Linked DNA regions of Homo sapiens: all the other regions are linked to region 1. Evidence: promoter capture Hi-C in 16 types of primary human blood cells and fetal thymus (Javierre and others, 2016). All regions are on one chromosome and are shown on one strand. Each heading gives the region's core, a stretch centred on a gene start or on the middle of the fragment in contact. The rest is flanking DNA. Distances are from core to core; before and after follow the strand shown. Region 1 holds the start of ARSK (arylsulfatase family member K). Region 2 overlaps CHD1 (chromodomain helicase DNA binding protein 1). Region 3 overlaps ARRDC3 (arrestin domain containing 3).

Region 1 (4,580 bases), core at 752-3,251:
CAGTTTGAATATTAACAAGTATGTGAATGCAAAAATTTTTTTTATTTTTTATTTTTTAAAAATTTTTTTATTTTTATTTTTATTTTTTTTTCGAGACGGACTCTCGCTCCGTCGCCCAGGCTGGAGTGCAGTGGTGCGATATCAGGTCACTGCAAGCTCCGCCTCCCAGGTTCACGCCATTCTCCTGCTTCAGCCTCCCGAGTAGCTGGGACTACAGGCGCCCGAAACCACGCCCGGCTAATTTTTTTGTATTTTTAGTAGAGACGGGGTTTCACTGTGTTAGCCAGGATGGTCTTGATCTCTTGACCTCGTGATCCGCCCACCTCGGCCTCCCAAAGTGCTGGGATTACAGGCGTGAGCCACCGCGCCCGGCCGTGAATGCAAAAAATTTAAGCACAAATATAGAAAAATCTATGCATTCATACTACACTAAAAAAAATAACAAACCTATATATCTCAGTCATCTTTGGAAGTTTCTGGGATGTTGTGATCCACATTCGGATTCCCTTTTAGGAATGAACAATTGCCTCTGCTGAAGACAGCTGCTTTGCCCAACACCATGCCCCATTCTAGGAGCAGCCCACAACCAGTGGCCATCCAACATGCAGGTGGAAAGGTCTGTTCTCCTCACTCCTATTGGAAAGCAGCTCTGAAGCACCATACTAGTTTGAGAACTGTCATTCATAAGATGGCAACAAAATTCAGCTTCTCCTCTGCACAATCCTGCTTCCTTCATTTGCCTTTGATTACAAGAGCACTCTGTAATAAAATGCCATCTAGTCAATTTCCAGTACTGCCCATTCTCTAAGTTTAAATCACAAAGATAACTTTAAGTAATATTTTCAAAAAATCCCATGGGCACATCCAGACTATGTAATTTTAATCATCAGGAATCTACGAGAAAGGAAATACAACATATGATTACAAACACTCTTTAGTGCCAGATATGCTTAACACCAACATCTGTGTGACCACAGTAACACCGAGTGATAATAAACTAATATTACAATTAATAACCAAACAATTGTCTAAGCAGCACTTTTTAAAACATGGATCATCCTAAAAGCATCGCGTAAGGTTGACAGTAGCACCTTTGGCTTGGGAAAGTTTCAAAAACTGTTTAAGTTTGGGATTCAGCCACATTACCAACACACACACATACACACAATTTCTCTGGAATACGGGGGAGTGAATCAAGTTATACCAACGATTCCATTTGAATCAGCACTAACAGGATTATCACAGACCTGGGTAATAAAAATAAACTTTCTTCACTTCTCACCCAAACATGAATTCCTGCAAACTTGAGGTGAACTGGAAAATGACTTTTGGAAAGCTAACACGCTTTTATGGAGATGCAGAATGTTATTTTACCACACAATTAAACCAAACGGGGGTATGGACTGAAAGTTCATTAGTCGTGGTAAAATAATTTAGCGAATCGAGGTCAGTATTAAAAAAAAAAGATCTGCAAAGATGTTTTCAGTGTTTCACTATTGTTTTACATGTTTGCATAGGTATGTGGTGTACGTGTGAGTACACGGGGCCTCACATAAAATGTATTTCTTTCTTTGCATCGGGGTAAAAGGTGTTTGAAAATGTCTCAGGTTCTGCTCCCCAAAGCCTGCAGCACAGGCGGCGGCGGTGAGGTCGCCGATCCCCAGCGGGGCGCCCCTCCCCTGCCTCGCGGTACTTACGAAGGAGTCGCTCACGACCAGCACCACATTGGGCGCTTTGGCTGCTCTCCGCCTCTGCTCCCCTGCTCCGGGGGCCAGTACCGCCAGCGCCAAGGCTGCGACCACCGACACCCACAGCAGTAGCATCGCCGGTAGCGGTTCTGAGAGCCTGCCGCCGGGCCAGCCGCCTCCCTCTGGCGTTCTCTCCCTAGCAGAGCAGGGCAGGGACAGCGAACAACTCCCAAAGCTTGCAGTTTGGTTGCTTGATAGTAACGCCGAGCTTCACCCGCAGAACTACAACTCCTATCAGGCGGAGAGCGCGCACATGCGCAACAGAGAAATTCCCGCTTTTACCCACGTTAAGACCTTTTAATCAAATACCGAGCAAATCAGAACCCAGCCACTTCCAGTCACGTGAATGAGTCCTGGGAAAGGCGCATGCGCTCTCATTGCAGCCTCGGCGTTTGTAGAAGAGGAGCATCTGCTCCAGGTGGGTTTGGATTTCTGTCGGTTTTGCACAAGGGATCCTAAAGGCGATTGAAATGGTACTTAGAGAAAGAAAGGATCGGGGCCGGGGCTGTTCATTTTGGGCCGCGCAAGCGTGGCTGAGTGTTCGGCGAGAGCGTGAACTGGGCGGCGATGAGGTGGCGGCGCGGCTGTCACTTAAGTTGAATAGGGCGGTGCCTTGTGGGGCCTCTGGGTGGACCGCCTCAGGTGCGCCGTGAATGCCTTAGACCCCCCCGAATACCTTCCCAGGGAAATCTCTAGCCTGTCTCATCTTATTGCTTCTCTTACCCCGTGCAGTCAGGATTTACTGTGCTCCCATGGGGCGAGGAGCGGGGCCTAGTAAGAAGTTTCAGGCTGTAGGCAGGGGAAAGCATAGCTGTTCCTTGCCTTCAGAGAGCAAAGGAGATAAGCGAAACTGGAGGGGGAAATGGGCTGTGTGACATGTTCAGTTAGTTGACGTAGGTTCAGAATATCATTGTTTTGCTGCAGAATAAAAACCGGTCTCTTTTGACTGTTGAATTCCTTTGGAGAGTTCTGGAAGAAGCAGATTTCTGTCCCAAAGCCAAATTCCAATTTCTGTATCTAGTTTCGGGTATATAATTTGCACATCACACTAGTAGTTTTAATATTCTGACAGTTAAAAGAGGAGTTATACTACTTACTTAAGTCAACTGAATACTAATATCTGGCAGGTTTTTTTTTGCCTAAGATAATTGTAGTAAGGAACAGATTTGTTTATTTAATACTCACATGGCACTTAGGTGCTGAGCGTTATACTAAGCATTTACTGAGCATCTGCTGCGTGCCACGTACTTTTATATGGAATATTTTCTATAATCCTCACTTTCACCATATTGCAGATAGGAAAACAGGCTTAGAGAGGTTAAATGACTGGCCTGAGTTTACACAGGGAGCCAGTCAGAGCACGACTGAAAATTGAAGAGTCTGTGCCGTAACTCACTAAATGCTCTGTCTGCAGTTAGTTTATCTGTTAGTGTAGCAGAATTGTTACTCAAGCAGCATGATAAAGATCTGCGGGAGCATGCAAAAACGTAAACAGTGTTGGGCGCGGTGGCTCACGCCTGTAATCCCAGCACTTTGGGAAGCCGAGACGGGCGGATCACCGAAGGTTAGGGGTTCGAGACCAGCCTGGCCAGCATGGTGAAACCCCGTCTCTACGAAAAATACGCAAAATACTGGGCGTGGTGGCGGGCGCCTGTAATCCCAGCTACTAGGGAGGCTGAGGCAGGAGAATCACTTGAACCCAGGAGGTGGAGGTTGCAGTGAGCTGAGATCGCACCTTTGCACTCCGCCTGGGCAACAAGAGCAAAACTCCATCTCAAAAAAAAAACAAAAACAAAAAAACCCCTAAACAATAGTCTCAGTTTACATGAGTTTAGATTTCAGGGAAGCAAAACCAAGCATACATGAAATAATAATACAGCACGGAAGGTAATACAAGTGGGCTCTCTCATAAAAACAAATTTGTTTTGAGTTAATTTGGAATGTAGAACGTATTTTCTACCATAGTGACAATATTGACTGACATTTAAATTCATAAAAGTTATATTTAATTTTGTGTCTGATTCCATAAACTGTGCTTACTCTCTACAGCCTTGTTTCCACAGGACATGTACTCTGATGACAGGCTTACAAGAATACATCTTTTTCTTCTTTCTCCCCTTGGCAGTGTCAATAGGAGCAGGTGCTGCAGTGATTTGGAGCAAGACAGATATTTTAGAGCCTTAGAGACGTTGTGCTGGAAGAATCTAAGAGGCTTCTAGTCCTACTTCCCATCTGACATTCAGTTTATCCTAAAACATTCCTGCTGAGTGGATTGTCCAGCCTGTGCTTTTTCATCTCCAGTGATGGGAAACACTTCCATTGAGTACCTCATTCCACATTTATATAGGTCTCATTAAAAGTTCCTATTTTAAGTTGAAGTTAATCTTCCTCTATTTTTAACCATTCATTAGTGCATTTTTCTTCACTTTTACATGGATAATCTCTCCCTTTCAACAGTCCTTCCCCCAACTCCCTCGCCACCATTTATTTATTTTTCCTAGTCCCCAGTTTCTTCAGCTAGTTCTCATAATTTCAGGTTTCCTCATTGTTTTGATTACTCTTTTGTGAACGTACAACATTTTTGCTAATCAGTAATTCTATGCTATCAGAAAAGGTACTCAAGAGAATGTAACCATTTGCCTCACTGCCTACTTCCCTCCCGCCATTTTTCACTCCTGCATGCTCTCCTCTAGAATACTGAGTTCCGAAAGCCCTCTTTGGAAAGTGTGGGTCACAGATGCTTCTGTGGCTTGTTTTTCCCCAGGCGTGTGCTCAAAGTGTGGCTCAATAAACATCTACTGATTGAGACACTTCCCTCAGTCACTCATTTTT
Region 2 (4,207 bases), core at 1,140-3,639, 3.4 Mb before region 1:
GCAGGAGAATTGCTTGAACCCAGGAGGCAGACGGAGGTTGCAGTGAGCCGGAGATTGCGCGATTGCACTCCAGCCTGGGAAACAAGTGAAACTCCGTCTCAAAAAAAAAAAAAAAATTAAACCTTGCGAAATCAAATTTAAGGAATCTTTTACAATGCATACTCATCTTAAATAATTGCAAAGCATATTTCTTTAATTATTCGGAGTTGTTAATTCTGCTATACAGGTTTTGTGTGCTTCTGAAAAGTGTGGTTATCAAGTTATCTAGTTTTTACAACTGCCTTGGAGTTTATCAGGAGAGAGACCTTCTTTTTTGCCTTCATTTTCTTTCTTACCGCTGCTATACTATGCTCTACTGTCATTAACACTCAATTCCCACTCCCTTCCCCAGAAGCTTTTGTCATAAGACATTACAAAGAAGGGAGATTGTGCCTAGTTAAAAGACTGAGGAGGTGAACTTTAGAGGTAGAGGGATTTTCTTGCAAAAAAAACTAAAGTTTCTATAACTATGAATATTAATATAGAGTAATTTTTTTTCTTTTTTTTGAGCCAGAGTCTTGCTCTGTCGCCCAGGCTGCAGTGCAGCGGTATGACCTCGGCTCACTGCATCCTCCGCCTACCGAGTTCAAGCAATTTTCCTGCCTCAGCCTCCCGAGTAGCTGGGACTACAGGCATGCACCACTGCATCCAGCTAATTTTTGTATTTTTAGCAGAGACGGTGTTTCGTCATGTTGGCCAGGCTGGTCTCGAACTCCTGACCTCAGGTGATCTGCCCGCCTTGGCCTCCCAAAGCACTGGGGATTACAGGCATGAGCCACCGTGCCTGGCCCCTAATATAATTAGATTAGAAATATACTTTGTTTCTAAAGTTGATATTCATTGTAAGTAGCTTTTTAAAGTAAATTTTGGTTTTTTAGTGGCTAGAATTCTATAATGTATTTTTGCTTCAAAATTTCCTTTTTCTTTTGTGAAAGTTTATTAAACGGAATAGAATTAAGAAAGAATTCATTTGGCATTTGCAGGTTACAGTTAGCTTTCTACTGAAAAAAAAAATTTTTAACTATTCTTTCTGTCTGGAGATCTCTCTATAACTATTCACTGAAAGGAAGAAGAATACACAGGAAAAATATGTCTCTTTTGCTATGCTATTGCTGACAGTCTTGAAATTTAGTTACTAAGAAATGTGGGCCAGGATGCACCTGTATAACAGTTACAGCTCAACACAAAGTTTTATGTAACTGAAGTTAAGCTTTTTAAAGATAATGCTGGAAGATTTCAAAGCATCAATTTGCAGCTGTGTGGATTTGTGGTGGTATTTGCAAGCAAATTTTTCAAATCCTGGTAGACTTTTTTTTAGTGTGTGTGTGGTTTGTTTTTTTTTAATTGAGATGGAGTCTCACTGTTGCCCAGGCTGGAGTGCAGTAGCACGATCTTGGCTCACTGCAGCCTCCGTCTCCTGTGTTCTGGCAGTTTTCTGCCTCTGCCTCCTGAGTAGCTGGGATTATAGGTGCCCGCCACCATGCCCCGCTAATTTTTGTATTTTTAGTAAAGATGGGATTTCACCATGTTGGCCAGGCTGGTGGTCTTGAACTCCTGACCTTGTGATCCACCCACCTCGGCCTCCCAAAGTGCTGGGATTACAGGCATGAGCCACTGCGCCTGGCTGACTTTTTTTAGTTTTAAATAAGTTATCTTGAGTGATGATTTACTTCAGGAATGGCTATATGGTTAAAGATCAGAATGGTGTATGAGTTACCTTTCAAAGATTACTTTTCTGTATGTAGTCATAATGTGTGGGCAAACATTAATGTGATGTTACCCCTTTTACTCTGCTTAAGTAGCTGCTTGTTTAAGATCTTGATGACTGATTGGTTATATATGGTGCAGTTTTGTGTTTTAAAATGAGTATTACTTTATGATGAATGGAGAAAATGTTTAACCTTTTTTTAAAATGGGAAATATTTAAAACTACAGAAATAGAAAAGTTGCACCAGTTGTGGTCCGTGGACCAGCGGTGTTGGCATCATTTGGGAGCTTATTATAACTGTAGAACCTTGTGCCTCGCCCCAGACGTACTGAATCAGAATCTTCATTTTAACAAGATTCTAAGTGATTCTTATGTATTAAGTTCATATACATTTATATGAAGCTATTCATCTGGAGTCATAGCATCTTGCCACTTTGTTATTGATGTTGTTATACATGGTTTTCATTCTCTGCGAACCTCCAATTAATTGTGTCTTGAGCAGGACTAGCAAGAGGCTAGGTAAGTTTCGTTTCTCCGGAAGCAGTAACAATGGCAACTGATGATTGTTGAGCTCTTGCTGTGCCTTAACCTAGCATGATGCACATAGGGCATTGTGCATTACTTGAATTGTCACAGTTCATCCTCACAAAACTTCTGTGATGTATACATTGTTATGATTCCCACTTTCCAGATGGGGAAACAAGATTTATAGCCATTTTATTTATTTTTTTATTCTTTTTTAAAAAACTATTACCTAAACTCTATACTTGGATTTCATTGATTTTTCCATTAACTCCCTCTTTTCTGTTGTAGGATTAAATCCAGAGTGCCACATTGCATTTAGTTGTCACGTCTCCCCAGTCTCCTTTCATCTGTGAGAGTTTCTAAGTCTTTCCTTAGTTTTCATGGTCTAAACCATCTTGAGAAATACTGGCCAGGTATCCTGTAGAATGTTTTTGAAATCTAGATTTGTCTTTTTTTTTTTTTTTTTGAGACGGCGTCTTGCTCTGTTGCCCAGGCTGGAGTGCAATGGCACGATCTCACCTCACTGCAACCTCCGCCTCCTGGGTTCAAACGATTCTCCTGCCACAGCCTCCCGAGTGACTGGGACTACAGGTGTGCACCACCATGCCTGGCTAATTTTTGTATTTTTAGTAGAGACAGGGTTTCTCTGTGTTGGTCAGGCTGATCTTGAACTCTTGACCTCAGGTAATCCACCCACCTTGGCCTCCCAGAGTGTTGGGATTACAGGTGTGTGAGCCACCACACCTGGCCTTGTCTATTGTTCTTAGGATAAACTAGGGTTATTGGTTTTTAGAAAGAATACCACAAAGATAAAGTGTGCTAGTCACATCATATGGGAAACATGTTATCCTCATGACATTACTGGTGGTGTTAACCTCTCACTTGGTCAAGGTAGTATTTGCAAGTTTCTCTACTGTAAAGTTACTGTTTTTCCCTTTCCATAATATATTCTTTGGAAGCAAGTCATTTTGTCTAGCCTACTTTCAAGAGGGTTGGGATAGGAATTAAATTCCATCTCCTGGTGGGGGGAGTATTTACATATATTAAATGGAATTTCTGTAAGGAAATTTCTAAATCGTTTATATATGTATGGATTTATGTATGTGCTTTGAGTTGTAATCCAGCTTAGTGGATTACAACTCTATAAAATATATATTTGTATATATTTATGTATAATAGGTATTTTATGTATCTATTGTATAATAGTTGACTTTTTTGTTACTTAAATTGATCTAGCCTTGGCTCTTGGAAGCTTTTTTAGGTTGGCTCGTATGTTTCTTTTACACACTGCCTTACTTTTACCCTAGAATCAGCCACTCTCCAAGGAGCCTTGGTTCCATTTTTTTGGAGAATGGCATTAGAAACCAAGATTTGGGTACTGGGTGTGCTTGTTGATATTCAAGTGTCACTGCTTTTATTTCCTCTCAGTGAACAAAGTAGACAGAGCTAGGTAATATATGTAGATATATTATGTATACCTACGTATCTATAGTCATTTCTGTATCCTTACGTCTGTATACATATTATCTCATACATAAACGTGAGTTCATACCGATGGCTCCAACTCTAATCCTGTGCTATAGGGTTCATTCTAACCTTTCTTTCTTATTGCTTTGTAACTTCCTTACTCAACATTGAGAAACCTGGCTCTGACCATCCACCATTTATCTGCTTATATATTCACTCATAATATACATGTAAAGCAGTTTTAGAATTTTTAGGATATACTTTATCAAGAGAAACTAATTTCGCAACTAAAATACGGTGTTTACATACAGTACACTTTAATATTTAGCCTTTAAGTTTCTAGTCAAAACACTGTTTTCTGATGTTGGTCAAGTTCATTTTTCTCTCACCCCTTTGAGTGTAATTATGTGATAAATTTATAATAAAATTAGATTCATTTGTCACAATCTGCATTCCATCCTGTGATCA
Region 3 (4,315 bases), core at 724-3,223, 4.2 Mb after region 1:
TTAAAATAGGAATAGGGTTTCCTTTAACATGAGTGAATTGGAAGTTGCTAGTCGAATAATAACCACTTTATACTTAGTTTATTATCAATTATCATTATGAGAAAAGATAGACCCTATCAAGTCTTAGTAGCTTCAATTTATAAAAAATTCTATATTCTACTTTTTCTGCTAATACTAACCAATAGCAGTAAGTTTCGAAAATAAAAATAATTAGGAATATCCTAACTTTAGAAATGTTTTTCTTCTGATATGAACTTAATAGCTTCTGTACAAAGAACTATTGGGAAGGTCACACAAGAGATATGACCCAGGCTTAAAAGGAAACATGCATCAAGGATACATTAATATAAAACTTGGAATCTAGTAAGAAAGGAAAAAGGAAAGTGGTATATTCTTAAAGTAATGACAGATTGTTGGAAGAGATGATACAAACTTTTTAAAAAAAAATGCCTTTTAACAAATATTAAAACCTGCAAAATGGCACTTGTGGTGATTATTCTGGAGAATAAACAGATTACATAAGATTTTGTCAGGTGACAAATGTACATTAATTCTGCATTTGTTAATTCTAGTGCTTGAGATGTTATATATAGAGAGAGAAGTCATAAATGGTATTTTTTAGAAAATTCTATTTACTGTATTATTTGAGAATTTTATTTGGAATATAATGCCCTCATCTAATTTCTGAGAAAAATATTAAAGTCTGTTGATAGAATAAGGCCAATATGGGGCCTGAGTATTTTCAGCGTCATTTAATGTTAAAGTTCTATCCATAAACCAAAGTCATTTAACATAAATTTTGGATAACTATTAGCATACAGTTTAAGATTTTATTTCTCTGCTATACAAGTTAATGTGGGAGTCTAAAATGCAAAAAAAAAAAAAAATTATGAAAACACCAGTGTTTCTTATGCTAATCTAAGCTAGCACTCTTGTAAATAACTGAACATTGAGTATTTTACTAATGAAATTATGAAAAAGATACTGAACTTGCTAAAATAAAACCTTCCACAAGTAAAATCTGACAGAGTTAAAAAAAATTTTTTTTTATTCTCTTGACATAGATCAAGAGGACTATATCTTTTTCTTTTGAAGCCCGTAAAGTTAGAGAACAGCCAAACAAGAATTAGAACATGAGTAAACTGAGAGATACAAAAGTAGTTTTTCAGTAAACTTAGGAAATGTGAAATTTTTGAAACTATAATGACTATTCCAGGCCTTTTCTAGACCTTAGTTAGTTGCTATTAAAAGATGATAATTCCCGGCTAATGAGAAGTGGAGTACTATAGGGAATTTGGTCTGAATGTTTAACCAGTGTCTAGAATTTATCAGTAGAAATAGTTAAACCATTCTCAACTTTGTGTTTGAATTCTTGGCCTTTTCAAAAAATGCCCATTAAACTTTCATGATTTTGCCACCATCATTAAAAGTAGCCTCCTCTTAGTTTAAATGGATTGTATTCTTCTGGCTTTTTAAAGCAAAATTTTAAAGATATTTATTGTTTATTCTTAGTTGGAAATAGGAAGTTTTTTCCCCAGTGACTTATCCCTTTGGAAATTTTTTAAATTATATGTTTGATACCTCATTGGAACATAAACAATACAATATATTAACACTTCTATTCTGACCTACTGTGTAATTGTTAGAAAGAGGTATAAAATTAATATATTGACCTTTATATTCTGCACAGACCACTCGCTACCTCATTCGAAGGCCGACATGGCAGTGTGCGCTATTGGGTGAAAGCCGAATTGCACAGGCCTTGGCTACTACCAGTAAAATTAAAGAAGGAATTTACAGTCTTTGAGCATATAGATATCAACACTCCTTCATTACTGGTAAGAATTGACTGAATTATTTATTCTTTGTTTTTGGCATATAAATATTAAAGAATAATCAATCACCTAAACTATGCAGTTGTCATAATTTAAAAATACTGGTTTTCTTTTAAAATTTCATAAATATACATTTTCTTAAATACAGTCAAGAACACTGAAATTAATGAAAAATATGCTCATATTTTTGACATTGTAGTATACCTTTAAGTAAATATAAAACTAAGACCAGTATATGATATGAAGTATCTCTTACTCAGAGTATGACAGCCATAACAAAAAACAGATCTGGTCCTTGGATGATTTGAGTGGAAGAAGAGCAGTAGTATCTTTTATTATAATACAATATCACTTACTTGACAATATCATAATCTAAAATTTGTACTATACTTTGTTATTCCAATAGAGGGATAGTTGTCAAATAATGGGGAATCATTAGTTTCATTAAAAAACTCCTTTTTTAAAGAAATCTATTTTTAATTGCATTTGTCTGAAAATAATTCAAATTTGACTTAAAACTTTATTTGATTTAAACAAATGGTAACATCTTTAAAGCACATAAGAAATGGGCATTTTCCTTTTTTACATATTGATTTTTTAATAGTCTCAGAGAAAGATGTTAACATTTGGAATTATAATCAGATTGCTTTCTTTGCTGCCTTTTTAAGGCAGTTTAAATGGAATGTGGAAAGGGTTTTTTTTATTTGGTTGGTTTTTGATTACTATATTTGTAAATAGTGTGAGCTAAAAAACTATGTTTATGGGATAGGCTGTAAACCCTTTACCTTTTTTTTCTAATTGAATGGAAATTTATATGAAAATAAAAGTAATGGTATAATTCAAAACCATCGGTTAGTTAAAAAATAAGAAGTATGTCTGGATACAAAAAAAAAGCAAAACCAGTTGTAATTTTTAATTTTCCATAAATTTAGGGTTATATTTTAAAATATTCTGGTATTGATTGTACCAATCCATACACTGACCTTTTTCTCTTAATTTTTTTCTTACAGTCACCCCAAGCAGGCACAAAAGAAAAGACACTCTGTTGCTGGTTCTGTACCTCAGGCCCAATATCCTTAAGTGCCAAAATTGAAAGGAAGGGCTATACCCCAGGTATGTAAGAGGTAGATTCCCACAAAAAACTTTTCTTCACTTAGCTTTTGTGTTTAAATTTATAATATGACTACTAAATATAAACATAATATAGTATTCTTTTGTGAAATAACAAATTGTGCTTATCCATTTGTTTTTTTCACAAAGTAGAATGTAGTTTCCTTTTTCAAATAGCTACTGATTAGTTCATTTCTATGACTCAAGTTATTTGCAGTTCCTGGGACATCTTTTCATGTATGTTAGTTGCACTTTCTTACTTTAGCTTTAAGAATCTTGACTTCTTTTGTTGTTTTTTTCTAACAGTAGATATGTATATATTTTTCCCTCTCTAGGTGAATCAATTCAGATATTTGCTGAGATTGAGAACTGCTCTTCCCGAATGGTGGTGCCAAAGGCAGCCATTTACCAAACACAGGCCTTCTATGCCAAAGGGAAAATGAAGGAAGTAAAACAGCTTGTGGCTAACTTGCGTGGGGAATCCTTATCATCTGGAAAGACAGAGACGTGGAATGGCAAGTTGCTGAAAATTCCACCAGTTTCTCCCTCTATCCTCGACTGTAGTATAATCCGCGTGGAATATTCACTAATGGTATGTACACATTTAAGAGGTTTTTTCCTTTCTTTTTTCTTTTTTGAAACACCTGTCACCCAGGCTGGAATGCAGTGGCACAGTCTCAGCTCCGCTACAGCCTCTGCTTTCTGGGCTCCAGTGATCCTCCCACCTCAGCTCCCAAGTAGTTGGGACTACAGGTGTGCCTATAGCCATGCCTGGATAATTTTTGTATTTTTTGTAGTGATGGAGTTTGACCATGTCGCCCAGGTTGGTCTTGAACTCCTGGGCTCAAGTGATCCATCCACCATGGCCTCCCAAAATGTTGGAATTATAGGCATGAGCCACAGTGCCTGGCCCAAGAGGTTTTTGGTGTTTTTTTTTGTTTTGTTTTTAAGTCTTAAAGTTATGACATAGTTTTGTCTTACATCCAGGATTTGATTTTTTTAAATTCCATATATAGTGACATATAAAATACATAACTCTTTATATAGTTTGACTTACAATTATACCTTATATGTAAATGTACTATACAGAATTATACATAAAAGAGAAACTTTTCATGTATGTAAGTTTAAAAATGAAGTAAATGGGGGTTTCAAATAACATTAAAATTGGTTATGAGTTTTTGAAAAGGAAATCATACTTGGCATTCTAAACTTAATATTTCTTTGCAATGTTTAGGTATATGTGGATATTCCTGGAGCTATGGATTTATTTCTTAATTTGCCACTTGTCATCGGTACCATTCCTCTACATCCATTTGGTAGCAGAACCTCAAGTGTAAGCAGTCAGTGTAGCATGAATATGAACTGGC

Evidence for each region. The method cuts DNA at HindIII sites, captures the fragments that hold promoters and counts their contacts. A CHiCAGO score of 5 or more calls a contact.
Region 2: a fragment that was not itself captured here is called in contact with the fragment with the promoter of ARSK in region 1 in 1 of 17 cell types (fetal thymus); the score reaches 5.6 in fetal thymus.
Region 3: a contact is called between a fragment that was not itself captured here and the fragment with the promoter of ARSK in region 1, in 1 of 17 cell types (fetal thymus). The highest score is 6.2, in fetal thymus.

Annotation. Positions count from the first base shown.
Region 1 is chr5:95,552,522-95,557,101 of GRCh38, reverse strand. It overlaps ARSK (arylsulfatase family member K), which reads right to left and starts at 2,001. Exons shown (of 8, transcript NM_198150.3): 1 at 1,698-2,001. The coding sequence starts at 1,823. SKIC3 (SKI3 subunit of superkiller complex) reads left to right here and starts at 2,125. Exons shown (of 43, transcript NM_014639.4): 1 at 2,125-2,166. The HindIII fragment of the contact is 6,579 bases long and covers 1,926-4,580 here.
Region 2 is chr5:98,919,328-98,923,534 of GRCh38, reverse strand. The region is part of intron 2 of CHD1 (chromodomain helicase DNA binding protein 1); the gene reads left to right. Among named protein-coding and RNA genes, the nearest start is that of CHD1-DT, 7.1 kb to the left of the region's middle. The HindIII fragment of the contact is 2,275 bases long and covers 1,252-3,526 here.
Region 3 is chr5:91,374,144-91,378,458 of GRCh38, reverse strand. It overlaps ARRDC3 (arrestin domain containing 3), which reads left to right. Exons shown (of 8, transcript NM_020801.4): 3 at 1,691-1,838; 4 at 2,846-2,948; 5 at 3,281-3,537; 6 at 4,183-4,315. Among named protein-coding and RNA genes, the nearest start is that of ARRDC3-AS1, 4.0 kb to the left of the region's middle. The HindIII fragment of the contact is 4,797 bases long and covers 1-4,315 here.